Regions from separate parts of the Homo sapiens genome. Here all the other regions are linked to region 1. The links are contacts of gene promoters, found by promoter capture Hi-C in blood cells and fetal thymus (Javierre and others, 2016). All regions are on one chromosome and are shown on one strand. The core of a region is centred on a gene start or on the middle of the fragment in contact, and the rest is flanking DNA. Distances in the headings are between cores, read along the strand shown. Region 1 holds the start of CEBPB (CCAAT enhancer binding protein beta). Region 2 overlaps PARD6B (par-6 family cell polarity regulator beta). Region 3 holds the start of PARD6B (par-6 family cell polarity regulator beta).

Region 1 (4,135 bases), core at 557-3,056:
TTCTTAATGCTTGAAACGGAAAAGATTCCCAAAATATACAGACGCCTCTTTTCTCATAGAAATAGATTATTTTTTATAATACAAAAAAAGACCAAAAAACAAAACAAAACAAAACATCAACAGCAACAAGCCCGTAGGAACATCTTTAAGCGATTACTCAGGGCCCGGCTGACAGTTACACGTGGGTTGCGTCAGTCCCGTGTACACACGCGTTCAGCCATGTTTAAACCGATTGCATCAACTTCGAAACCGGCCCGCCCGCCGGCGCCTGGAGAGGGGCAGAGGGAGAAGCAGAGAGTTTATCATTCATCTGTACACATAGACGTTTCTTCTTTAAATAACACCACGGGCGGGAGCCCCATCTGCATGTGCGGTTGGTTTGGACAAAAATATAGATATATATATATAATAAAATATTAAAATTACCGACGGGCTCCCCGCGCTGCCAAGTGCCCCAGTGCCAAAGTTTTGCCGGCGCCGCCGGGGGCGGGGGCGAGGGCGCGGGCGCGGGCGCTCCCCGGAGTCTCAGCCCCGGCCGGCAGGGGGACGCGCGCGGGGGCCGCGCTAGCAGTGGCCGGAGGAGGCGAGCAGGGGCTCGGGCAGCTGCTTGAACAAGTTCCGCAGGGTGCTGAGCTCGCGCGACAGCTGCTCCACCTTCTTCTGCAGCCGCTCGTTCTCGGCCGTGAGCTCCAGGACCTTGTGCTGCGTCTCCAGGTTGCGCATCTTGGCCTTGTCGCGGCTCTTGCGCACGGCGATGTTGTTGCGCTCGCGCCGGATCTTGTACTCGTCGCTGTGCTTGTCCACGGTCTTCTTGGCCTTGCTCTTGACCTGCGAGGGCGCCGGCGCGGCCCCCGCGTAGCAGGCGGTCGGGGGCGCCTTGGCGTCAGCGGGGCTCGGCGTGCCGGGCGGGCTGGACGAGGAGGACGTGGAGAGGCTCCCGCTGCTGCCGCTCGGCACCGCCTGGTAGCCGAGGTAAGCGCGCAGCGCGTACGGGAAGCCCGCCGCCATGCCTGCGCCGCCGCCCGGCGCCCCGGCCTCCTCCTTCCGCTTGCAGTCCGCGGGCTCGAAGCCCGGCTCCGCCTTGAGCTCGGCGGGCGGCGGCGGCGGCGGGGGCGGTGGGTGCAGGGGCGCGAAGCAGCCGGGGTGCAGCGCGCCCTTGGCGGCCCCCAGGCGCCCCAGGCTCACGTAGCCGTACTCGGCCGGCTTCTTGCAGTTCTTGCCCCCGTAGTCGTCGGAGAAGAGGTCGGAGAGGAAGTCGTGGTGCTGCCCGGAGGAGGCGGGCGCGGGGGCGGGCGCGGGCGGAGCCGCCTCGAAGGTGTCCGTGGCCGTGGCGGGCGCCGGGGCCTGCGGCGCGCCCAGCGGCTCCAGGTACGGGCTGAAGTCGATGGCGCGCTCGTGGTCGCCGATGCTGCCCAGCTCGCCGGCGGGGGGGCGCGGCCCGGGTCTGGCCGCGGGGGGCGCCGCGGGGGCCGCCTTGCCGCCGTACGCAGCAGCCAAGCAGTCCGCCTCGTAGTAGAAGTTGGCCACTTCCATGGATTTAAAGGCAGGCGGCGGCGGCGGCAGGGGGAGACATGCTGGGTCCCAGGCCACCAGGCGTTGCATGAACGCGGGTGCCCGGGGAGGGGGCCTGGGGCTGCCCGCTCCGGCCGGCCCGCAGGTGGCGCGGCCTCCCTGCTCTGAGCTGTCGCCGCTGCGTCGCTGCTGCTGCTGCCGCCGCTGCCGGGGTGGCCGCTATTAGTGAGGGGGCTGGTGGCTGGACCCTCGGGTGGGTCCCCTTCCCAGTCCCGTGCGCGGCTCTGACTCGCTAAAGTTTCTCCTGAGCCCGGTTATTTATAAGGGCGGCCCGTAGCAACCGCTGCGTCACGCCGGCCCCTCCCGCCGCGCCGCCGGGACGCGAAGGACACGGCCGCGGCCGCCCGAGACCCCCGGGAGGACGGCGGCAGGGCGCAGCGGAGGGACCGGGCACCCGGAGCGCGTTTTCGGGGGGCCCCCGGGACGCAGGGGCGGCCTCACGCCCCCTGCCCACCCCCGCCCGGCCGCCCCGGGATTGGGAGCGAGAGGGGGCGGTGCGACCCCGCCCCCGGACCGCCCCTCTGGGCTGGAGGCTGTCCTGGAAGGCGGGGGAATCGGAGGAGGGGGCGACCTGATCGCCTTCCCCCCGAGACGCGGCCCCGGCCCGCCCCCTGCTGGAGGAGGCGGAGGTTTCAGGAGGGCCGAGCAGAGCCCCGACGGCCGACCAGGGTCGGCTCCCCGGGCCGAACCCTGGAGACCCCAGCCCGCAGCTCTAGCTCCAGGAGAAGCGACCCATCTCCGTGGCCCTTCCTCCCGTAAACTCCCACCTCCTCCCCAGGTCCCCGGCTTTAGAAAGAAGACTTGACGCCTGTGACGACTCCCCTCTTAAGCCACAGACAATATGAGGACCCCGGGGGTCGGCGCGACCGGGCAGGATCGCGCCCCGCTTGGGGCTGGACCCTGGTCCACGGAGCCCCGCCCCTAGCCCCGCCCACCACACCTGCCGCCTGCTCGAGGCTTGGACACGCCCGGGTCTTCTCTTGCCCCGCGCTGCGCCACCCGACCTGGGCCCTGGGATGGGGCAGGGGCGGGGGGTGCTCGGCCCTGCCACACTGTGTGACCTTGGGTGAGTCACTTCACTTCTCCCAGCTGCAATCCATGAAGGGTGTCGCTACTGTCAGTGGTGGTGGCATTGTTCCCACCAGACTCCCAAACCTAAGGCTTACGTTGTGGGCTGCACATCAGAGAGAACGGGACCCCCACGGATTGTGCCAGTGGAGGCCCAGAGAGAGCATGGCGTGGCATACCAAGGTCACATGGCCGCATGTCCCCCATTCATCCCAAATGAAATGCCCTCATCTGAGCCCTAAGACCTATTGCCAGTCCCAGAGGCCAAAAACTTCTGTTTCTGAAGTTGCTAGGGAGGGACTTAAGCGAGGCCTCACGGGAGGGGGTGGTATGCAGGAAAGAGAAGGAAAGAGAAAGATAAGTTTTTACCAAGTCCCTGCCCTGTGCTTACGGTGGGCCTGCACCCCGAGGTTCAACTTTTTTCACCCCACCAGGAAGATGCTTTTGCTGCTGCCATTTCACAGACGGGAAAGCGACAACGGCCCGCCTGGACTTGAACACAGGCCCAAGGCCTTCTGACCACTTGCCCGCCTCTGCTGGGTAGGCTCAGGTTAGAGGGCCCTTTGCCCTCCCGGACCCATTCCTAGGCCATTGGGGCAGCTCCCTGGGCCCACCTCTCTGCCACTCCTAGCCCAGGCCACCTAGGCAGGAGCTCCCAGCCTGCCCGGGGCTGATCCCCAGCCCACTGACCCCAGCCCTGGCCCCAGCGGGCAGGCGGGCATTGCTCAACCTTTGGTGTTATCTGCTGAGCTGGGGTGACCTCCGCCCCCAAGAGCTGGAGAAATGACATCTCTGGGCACCCTTGGTGGGTAGGAGGCAGGGAGGGAGGGGATAAAACACTGGCCCAGCCTGCTGGCTTTCTGGGTCTTCCCAGCAGCCTCTGGGTTGGGGAGGGATCAAGGCCCAGAGGGGTGCGGCAGCTTCCCTAGGGCCACCCGGCCAGCCCTTCCTCACTGCAAAATGGGACACTCAGGGCTGAGCTAGAGGCCACGGCTTCTGAGAGGCCCTCCCTGTCCCACCTGCTAGTGAATTTCCTTCCCTATCGCCAGCCACCATTATCCTAGCTGTCTACCTCAGTCTCCCTGCAGGCTGCCACTTGGGGAGGGCTGGCCCACGAGGGACTCCTGAGCACAGCACGCTCAACATTTACCAGTGAAGGAATGCATTTGCTGTTCCCTGTGCACCAAGAACACTGTCACCCCACCTCTGCCCAAGGCAGCTCCTCAGGTCTCAGCCCAAAAGCTGCCTCCTCCGGGAAACCCTCCCTGACCTTCCCATGGGAAGTCTAGGCCCTCAGTCACTCCTCTCACACCCCTGCTTCATTTCCGTCACCATTCTCATTATAATCAGAATTATCTTGCCTGCCAGTCTTGCTGTCTGTCCCCACGGCCTTCACTACTGTGTCCCTGGTGCCTAGAACAGAGCCTGGTACATAGAAGGTGCTCGATGAATGGTGAGTGAATAAATGGAGGAGGCTGAGAAGAAGGAGAGGTTC
Region 2 (4,135 bases), core at 563-3,062, 560 kb before region 1:
TTGCCATTCAAGAGTCAAATTTGTAAGACTCACAGAATGTTAAAGCCGGAATGCCATTAAAAATAGCATATAAATGGAAGAACTTCGGTGAATTCAACAAAAAGTACAACGTATTACATAATGTGCAGTCAGTTAATAGTTTACTGATAATATGCTTAGTGGTAATGTGAACAAAATACATTGAAGTATTCTGAGTCAAGTGATCTTCACGTAATCAAGACTTCTTCATATATATTTTACCATATAGAGAAAACATCCTTCAAAGCGGAGTCATTTGAATCTTCATTGTTGTAATAGCACACAATTGTTAAAAAGGTATTCATACTAGCCCTACCATAAAGTTAATTAATAAATAACTCTCCATAAGCCATAGGGAACTTATGTACTTCATAGTATTTTTAGTTTCTATATACAAGCATACCATTGTGCTTGTGCACACTGTACAATAAAATCAGGCAAGGAATTAAAGTTAGCAGCCTTACTCTTAGCTTGTTCTAAGTGGATGCATTGGAAAGTAATAAATAGCCTCATAAAATTAATAGTGATAAACTCTACCTGTCACAGGTGAATACTATGTAGTTTTCATAAAGTGTAGGCAGTGTTTCTAGAAATCCCATGAAGGAAAACCCAATTTTTTTTTTTTTTGGCATAAAAAGTGCACAAGTTTGTCCTATGTGTTAAAACATCTTAATTTGGATGTATTTTTTATCCAAAATGATGCATACTTGGATGCATTAAAAGCACACCAACAAAAATACACACACTAACAATAAAAGGAATGATTTCAAATGAGACTGGGAATGGGAACAAGAATAGGTTAAAGGAGAGACTTCCATATTTCCAAAGTCAAGAGAATTGCCTTTTAAAACATAAATTATATAGCCATACAGAATTAATTTGAAAATATGAAAGCTATAGGAAGGACAAACACCAATTTGAACAACTGTTGCAAAGTTTCATAACTCAAGAAAAGATAGCTTCCTGGCTAGGCGCTCATGCCTGCAATCCAGCACTTTGGGAGGAGATGGGCGGATCACTTGAGGTCAGGAGTTTGAGACCCACCTGACCAACATGGTGAAACTCCATCTCTACTAAAAATACAAAAAAATAAGCCAGACGTGTTGGCGCACACCTGTAATCTTAGCTACTCAGAAGGCTGAGGCAGGAGAATTGCTTGAACCCGGGAGCTGAGATTGCACCACTGCACTCCAGCCTGGGTGACAGAGACTCTGTCTCAAAAAAAAAAAAAAAAAGCTTCCTCAGCTTTATAACATGGGAAGTAACTCCTAAAAACAGCCAAGTGGTTTGATTCTTAGAAACCAGAAATGCACAACTGGGCGCGGTGGCTCACGCCTGTAATCCCAGCACTTTGGGAGGCCGAGGCGGGCGGATCAGGAGGTCAGGAGATTGAGACCTTCCTGGCTAACACTGCGAAACCCCGTCTCTACTAAAAATTAGCCAGGCATGGTGGCAGGCGCCTGTAGTCCCAGCTACTTGGGAGGCTGAGGCAGGAGAATGGTGTGAACCCAGGAGGTAGAGCTTGCAGTGAGCCAAGATCGCGCCACTGCACTCCAGCCTGGGCGATAGAGCGAGACTCCATCTCAAAAAAAAAAAAAAAAAAAAAAAGAAAGAAAAGAAAAGAAACTGGAAATGTACTTGAGAACATCATTTGTTACAATTTATTAGAAAGGAACATAAAAAAACAAAAATCAAAATAGGCTGGGCATGGTGGCTCTAATCCTAGCATTTTGGGAAGCCGAGGCAGGACTGCTTAAGCCCAGGAGTTCAAGACCAACTTGGGCAACATGGCGAAACCCTGTCTCTACAAAAAATACAAAAAGTAGACAGATGTGGTGGTATGTGCCTATGGTCCCAGCTACTCAGGAGGCTGAGGTGGGAGGACTGCTTGAGCCCAGGGGATTGAGGCTGCAGAGAGCTGTGATCATGCCACTGCATTCCAGTGTGGGCAACAGAGTGAGACCCAGTCACTAAAAAAAAAAAAAAAAAAAAAAAAAAAAAAAATCAAAATAAAATATTGGGAACATGAGACCTTTAAGAGCTGAGGTCCCCAATGTACCACAAGAGAGAATCAGACTTCACATTAGAATTTTAAAAATACAGTTAAAGGAAAAATTAACTGGGCTCTGCACAGCAGGTTAAATATGCAACCACTTCCAACAGAAATGATCTAGTCTTCTCACATAGTTCCAAGAATGTGCTTTAACATCTGATTCTCCACAGACAAAACAGCAAAAGCACGTAACTTCATCAGCAAAGGCCCCTTTGTTTTGGACTTAAATTCACCTCTGATCCACCAAAGTTTATATTAACAATTATCAAACTACTACTTTAATAATATTGTAAGCTTGCAACGTTACTCGTCTCATGCCTATTCCACGTCACTGGTCAGAGGTATATATGCTTTTAAACTAGCCAAATGTACAAGTCCTCATGGCATCCTCACTCTGAAAACATTCAAACCACGGTTTCATAATGTTATGATTGTTCCATCTTCTTCTAAGAGTTTTTGATCTGGAGCATGTGTTTCAAATTCCGTGTTTGAGCTGCTTGCTATGGCTGCTAAGCTCACTTCATTAGAGGGAATAAAGCCATTCTGTCCAGACTCAAAGCTTAGCTCTATCTGTGTTAATGACTCCAGGCTCTCAGTATTAGGAACAGCTTTTGGAATCTGCTGTGGCACTCCATTGTCTTCAATGATAATGTCATCTTCTTCGCTGTCTTCATCCTCTGGCTCAAAGCTTGGTTCAATCTGCTGTGGGTAGCCAAGAAGGCTGTTATCAGTAGACTGACCGGAACTGCCAGAAGTCCGACTGTTCCTCACAACATTATTCCTCTGGTTTGCCGGTCTCACTGTTATGATGAGGTTACGGCTATTTGCAATCATCATGTCTGTTACTTGATCAAGGCTCTTCCCTGAAACTTCTATGCCATTAACTTCTAAAACTTCATCATTAACAGCTAATAGTCCTGTACTTTGAGCCAGACCTCCTGGGACAAGCCTGGATATAAAGATCCCTGGAACCTTTTCTAAGCCATGTGGTGTTACCCTGACACTGGAGCCATCCCGGATGTAGAATCCTAGGGGTTTCTCCGTGCCGTATTTGTAAAGACGTACCCTACGATGCGTTTCTGGGAGAATATCCACGTCTATAATAGAAGACACAGGTCTAAAGTCTTGGGGCATACTAATGACTATATGTGGCTTTTTTCTATGGTTGTCAGGACGCAATACGTTGGTTAAAACATTCTTCTTCTTTATTAGCGTGTCTGTACCAAAGGCACTGTAGTCTGCTTCTTCTGTTTAAAAATAAAACAAAATAATTATAGAAATGCTGTAAAAATATCTATTCACTTGCAGCTGAATCTGTACAGAAAGGATAACTCAAAATATATTTGGTATATAAACAAACTAGCTAATAAGCTTATTCTAATCAGATCATAATCTAGTACAGTAGTAAAATGCCATACCAGAAAAAACCACTAGGTGGCCATCTCAAATACACATCACAAAATAAACCAATGTTGAAGTTAAATTTGATAGAGCTCATTCACTTTTAAACATTAAATATGGCAAATGAAACTATGATAGATCTTACATATTTTTTTTTTTTTTGAGATGGAGTCTCGCTCTGTCGACCAGGCTGGAGTGCAGTGGCGTGACCTCGGCTCACTGCAACCTCCGCCTCCCGGGTTCAAGCAATTCTCCTGCCTCACCCTCCCGAGTAGCTGGGACTACAGGTGTGTGCCACCAGGCCTGGCTAACTTTTTGTATTTTTAGTACAGATGGGGTTTCACCGTGTTAGCCAGGATGGTCTCGATTTCCTGACCTCATGATCCACCCACCTCGGCCTCCCAAAGTGCTGGAATTATAGGCGTGAGCCACCGCACCTGGCCAGATCTTACATATTCTTAAACATCATTAAATATATATGTATTTTTACTTTTTTTTGAATAGGGTCTTGCTATGTTGCCCAGGCTGGTTTTGAACTCCTGGCCTCAGGAGATCCTCCCGCCTCAGCCTCTCAATGTGCTAGGAGTACAGGTGAGAGCTACTGTGTCCGGCCTTAAAACATCATTTTAAACCAGTTACTTAAAATACATTTTTCCTTCACTT
Region 3 (4,135 bases), core at 429-2,928, 540 kb before region 1:
AGTAGAGATGGGGTTTCATCATGTTGGCCAGGCTGGTCTGGCACTCCTGACCTCAGGTGATCCACCCGCCTCGGCCTCCCAAAGTGCTGGGGTTACAGGCGTGAGCCACCGCGCCCAGACTCAAATCACATTTTTTAATGATGTTACAAACGAATGTCGATTTTCTCGATGTGATTCTCAGTTACAGAAACTTACAGAACTTTGCTTATCAACCCTAGACAATAAAACTATTCTACCTAGAGGCTCTAGGAAGCTTTCCTTACTCCACTGTACCTCACTCAAATCACTCCTTGATTTTACATACTCCTTAGTAGTCTTACCATCTATGATGCTCCATTACTTTTTTTTTTTGAAATTGATATACTTTCAATTTTCTCCTTTTCTGTGTTTTGGCCTTCTCAATTCTATTTTAAATGTTCTCAGGGCCCAGCCAGTGTCCTGTTTTGTATTCTGCAATGTCTAGAAGTTATTAAAAAGGCATGAAGGCTTTGCAAAAAAACAGCTTGAGGAAGTCATAACCTTTCTAAGCCTCAGTCTTCTCAGAGAATTGGGCTAGATTATCTAAGCTCCTTTTAACTCTTCAACTCAAGAAACGCTTGCTGAAAGTGTTCCCTTGGCTGCCGATCACCTTCAAATTCCAGCTCAAAACCCCCTTTGGAAGGCATTCCCTAACTAATCCCTCCCTACAGACTACCCTGCTCACTGAGCCTTGAGATTTAGAAATTCAGTGAATACCGAAGTAATTATCAGCAGATTGGCATACCGTTGGTCAAGGGGAAAAGCACTTGATGTGAGTAGGTAGCAGGATGGAATGAAAAGAGCATCTAGAGTCAAACTGTAAAGTGCTACTCCAACGTAAGGTGATAGTACTAATTTTACAGATTAAATGCATACCAAAGTTAGTGCTAGAAAGAGCGCCAGCAGGAAGCAAAGCGAACTTTTAAAGGGCTGTTTAGTTCACTGGGCTCTCTCCTTCGCCACTCGATGCGCCCCTTAACCACAGAAAGTGGGAACAACGGGGTGGTCCAGGGCCCTTTACTCACAGCCCAGCAGGCAGGATTCTCCTACACCTTTTGAGCAGCCTCGCATTTCACTCAGTGTGCGCCATCCTTGGATATACCTTGGCCCCTACTCCCGTCCGTGAACACGGGAATGAGATTTACGGAATGAGATTAAATGCTGGACTAGGTCTTCTTCCTGCCCGGGCCAGGGGCGGACACTAGCGCCCCCTGACCCCCGCCACCCCCTCCTCGGCAAGTTTATTACCCACAGTCTCCCGACCGCACCGTCCAGACCCCGGGGCAGCTCAGCCCGTCGCCTCCCCCGGCGCTCCGAGCCTGGCCCGGCCTCTCCCAGGCCCCGGCCCCCCAGGCCCGCCGCTCCGCCCAGCCCGGGCCCCGCGCACCTTGCTCTTCACCTCCATAGTGCCCAGGCAGCCGCTGCCCGCCCCGTGCCGGTGGCTGCGGTTCATGCTGAACGCCGAGCCCCGCGACGGCCTCCTCCGGCCGGGCGGCCCCTCAGGAGCGCGGGGAGCGAGTGCGCGACTGGGGATCTCGGAAAGCGGTTGCGGCCCGGGCGCCTCCTCACAGGCACCTGCAGAGGGGGCGGCCGCAGCTCCGGCGTCCGCGCTGAGCTCCACTCCACCAGCTGCTCACACGGCGGGACCGAGGGTCGGACTGGTGGCGCGGCAGGCGGGGAAGCAGCTCCCTCCCTCCGGGCCCCGGCGGCGACGGCGACAGCGCTGGAGGAGAGGAGGGGGCGGAGCGGAGGCCACAAGCGCCGCAACCTCTCCCTCTGCCGCCTCCCCCGCGAGCCCGCGCGCGCGCACCCGAGCGGACCACAGCCGCGGCGCGTGCGCGCGCTCACCTGCAGCCCCCGAAGATGCCGCAATCCCTCGCGTTCCGCCCACACCCAATAGAAAGCGCGCACCTGCGCCCGCGGCGCCAACCAATCGATACACGCCTCGCGCGGTGCGTGGGCGGGCTGCCTCCTCAAAACCCCGCCTACCACCGCACGATTGGTCCTGCGCTACGAGGGAGGGGCGGGATCACCTGAAGCCATGGCCCTCCGCCCCGCTTCAGGCCGGAGAGCCAGAAGGCGCATGCGCGGGTGCTGGAGTTTCCGCCCCGGGAAGGCACGCGGGGAGGCCGGCCGGAAGCGCGAGCGCACCTGAAGAAGGGCTCGGCTGGGTGGGCCTTTTGCGCACGCGCGAGCGCGCGCCTGGTTGCCCGGCTCCGCCGGGGCTCGCGCCGCTTAGCGCGCGCCAGTCACACGCACGGTCCAGGGGATTGGATGCGCCGCCCGTCCGGTTGCCGAGGCGCTGCGGGGCTATTCGGTTCCAGCCGGGCCCCCTTCCCGCTTCCACTTTGGGATGCTGCAGCCCCCAACGACGCCCCTCCACCGCCCCTTATCGTTGCTTAGGCGTCCCGCTGCAACTCTTGGTTGCAAAATTCAAGTTTTCCCGCCTCTGCAGCGGTTGCTGGGGGAGAAGCTTAGGGCTCTCTTGGCTTCATTTTGTCCGAAGAGACTCTGCACGCCTTAAGTCCGTCAGGTCGAGAGGGAAGGAAAGTGGGCTGAGGCGCGGGAAGGCTCCTTGCAGGCCCAGCCTCCCTGAGGATTTCTAGTCCAGTCTTTCAGGGCTTTTTTTTTTTTTCTTTAAAAGTCTTCCTTTTCCCTCCTCCCGCCATTCCTTGGCCATTCGCTGTTTCTACAAATGACAGCCTCTAGGTTGTGTTCGTTTCCCGGAGTGACCAAGCTGTGTCCCAGAGCAACAAAACGCTGAATCCTCCTCTCTGAACGTCCCAGAGCCCGGCCTCTCTTCACACAGACCCTGTGGGTCATGGGGAGGAGAGGAGAAGACTGAAGCTTTTGGCTGGAGGAGATTCCCAGGTCCCAAGGTCTCCCTGTGGGACCCGGGAATCCAAGAGCTGTTGAAACCTGCAAGCCAGGAAGGGGGCAGGGGAATGGAGGTGGAGGGGAAGGTCCAACCTGAGATTTGGCAAGAAGAGTGGTTAGGGTACCTTCCTCCCCTCATCTCCCTGCCCACCTCGGAGGCCTCCTAACACTTGTACCCCTGTTGCCCAGCACTTGTTACAAGTTACAGGTTTCCCATTTTTGTGTGCATCTGAGTTTTGTGAGTAATCTGCCACCAGCCTAGAATGAAAGCTCCCGAAGGCGCAGGGACGGCTTGTGCTTTGCTGGCATTGAGTGGCACAGAACCCGACTCCCAGCGGGTACTCAGATGGGTCTTTGCTGGGTGCTGCCACTGAGGGTGTCCCTTCTGCAGGCTCTTTGCCCCACTTGGGTTCAAAGGCGAGAAGCTCATTTTTTTCCCTCTGGAGGATTCAGGTAACCAGACGTTTTGTGGGAGGATTTAAGGTTTTTCTGGCCACCTGTGGCAGCACAGGTGGAAAGGACACCAATCCAAGCTGTATAATAAATAAGCAAGCTGCCTCCACCCCCTGTTTGAAAGCACATAGGAGGTGACTCAAGTTCAGCCGGAAATAAAGTGCATGTCAGGGCCTGTAACTCCCCTGTTTGGACTAGCACAGCAGTTCCCAACCTTTTTGTTTTCAAGACCCCTTTACACTATTAAAAATCATGGAGGACCCCAAAGTACTTTGTTTATGTGTAATGTCTTTCAATATTTATCTTAGAATTAAAACGGATGTGTCCAAAACATGGGAGTACACAAGCATGCATTCCAACAGTCATCAGAGTGATGATGTCATCACATGTCTTGTCCCTTCTGGAAAACTCCATTGTATACTCGTGAGACAATGGGAATGATGAGAACAAATGACATCTTAGTTTTGTGAAAGCAGTTTTGGCCTTGCAGAGACCCCCGTAAAGGGGTCTCAGGGACTCCCAGAGACCACACTCTGATCATGGCTGGACTAGATACCATGTCACCACCTTTAGAGAGCTCCGTTCTTAGGTCTCCTCCTCCTCTCCCTGATTGGCAAGGCCACACCCTGGGAGCAGCACCCCAGCTCTGTGTGAGTGAGTGTTGGGTGGTTGAGTTTTACTCCTGTTATCGGTACTGATTTATCAGGAAGTTCGTGGGTGCCAGTGCACCTGCGTGGGCCCTGCATTCCTGGAGGTGTCGTCACATCCTCTCTCCCTTCCCCAGGTG

The links. The method cuts DNA at HindIII sites, captures the fragments that hold promoters and counts their contacts. A CHiCAGO score of 5 or more calls a contact.
Region 2: a contact is called between a fragment that was not itself captured here and the fragment with the promoter of CEBPB in region 1, in 1 of 17 cell types (total B cells). The highest score is 5.7, in total B cells.
Region 3: the fragment with the promoter of PARD6B here is called in contact with the fragment with the promoter of CEBPB in region 1 in 11 of 17 cell types (total B cells, non-activated CD4 T cells, activated CD4 T cells and 8 more); the score reaches 21.9 in total B cells.

Annotation. Positions count from the first base shown.
Region 1 is chr20:50,188,501-50,192,635 of GRCh38, reverse strand. CEBPB (CCAAT enhancer binding protein beta) reads right to left here and starts at 1,806. Exons shown (of 1, transcript NM_005194.4): 1 at 1-1,806. The coding sequence starts at 1,602. The coding sequence ends at 565. CEBPB-AS1 (CEBPB antisense RNA 1) reads left to right here and starts at 567. Exons shown (of 7, transcript NR_125739.1): 1 at 567-972; 2 at 1,214-1,368; 3 at 2,351-2,638; 4 at 3,075-3,180; 5 at 4,009-4,093. RefSeq lists silencers at 464-573, 994-1,433, 1,574-1,783, 1,610-1,904, 1,864-2,273. The HindIII fragment of the contact is 16,423 bases long and covers 1-4,135 here.
Region 2 is chr20:50,748,842-50,752,976 of GRCh38, reverse strand. PARD6B (par-6 family cell polarity regulator beta) reads right to left here. Exons shown (of 3, transcript NM_032521.3): 3 at 1-3,318. The coding sequence ends at 2,489. Among named protein-coding and RNA genes, the nearest start is that of PARD6B, 19 kb to the right of the region's middle. The HindIII fragment of the contact is 1,111 bases long and covers 1,257-2,367 here.
Region 3 is chr20:50,729,123-50,733,257 of GRCh38, reverse strand. It overlaps PARD6B (par-6 family cell polarity regulator beta), which reads right to left and starts at 1,678. Exons shown (of 3, transcript NM_032521.3): 1 at 1,406-1,678. The coding sequence starts at 1,471. RefSeq lists silencers at 1,236-2,025, 2,126-2,335 and enhancers at 2,526-2,575, 3,528-4,135. The HindIII fragment of the contact is 2,238 bases long and covers 256-2,493 here.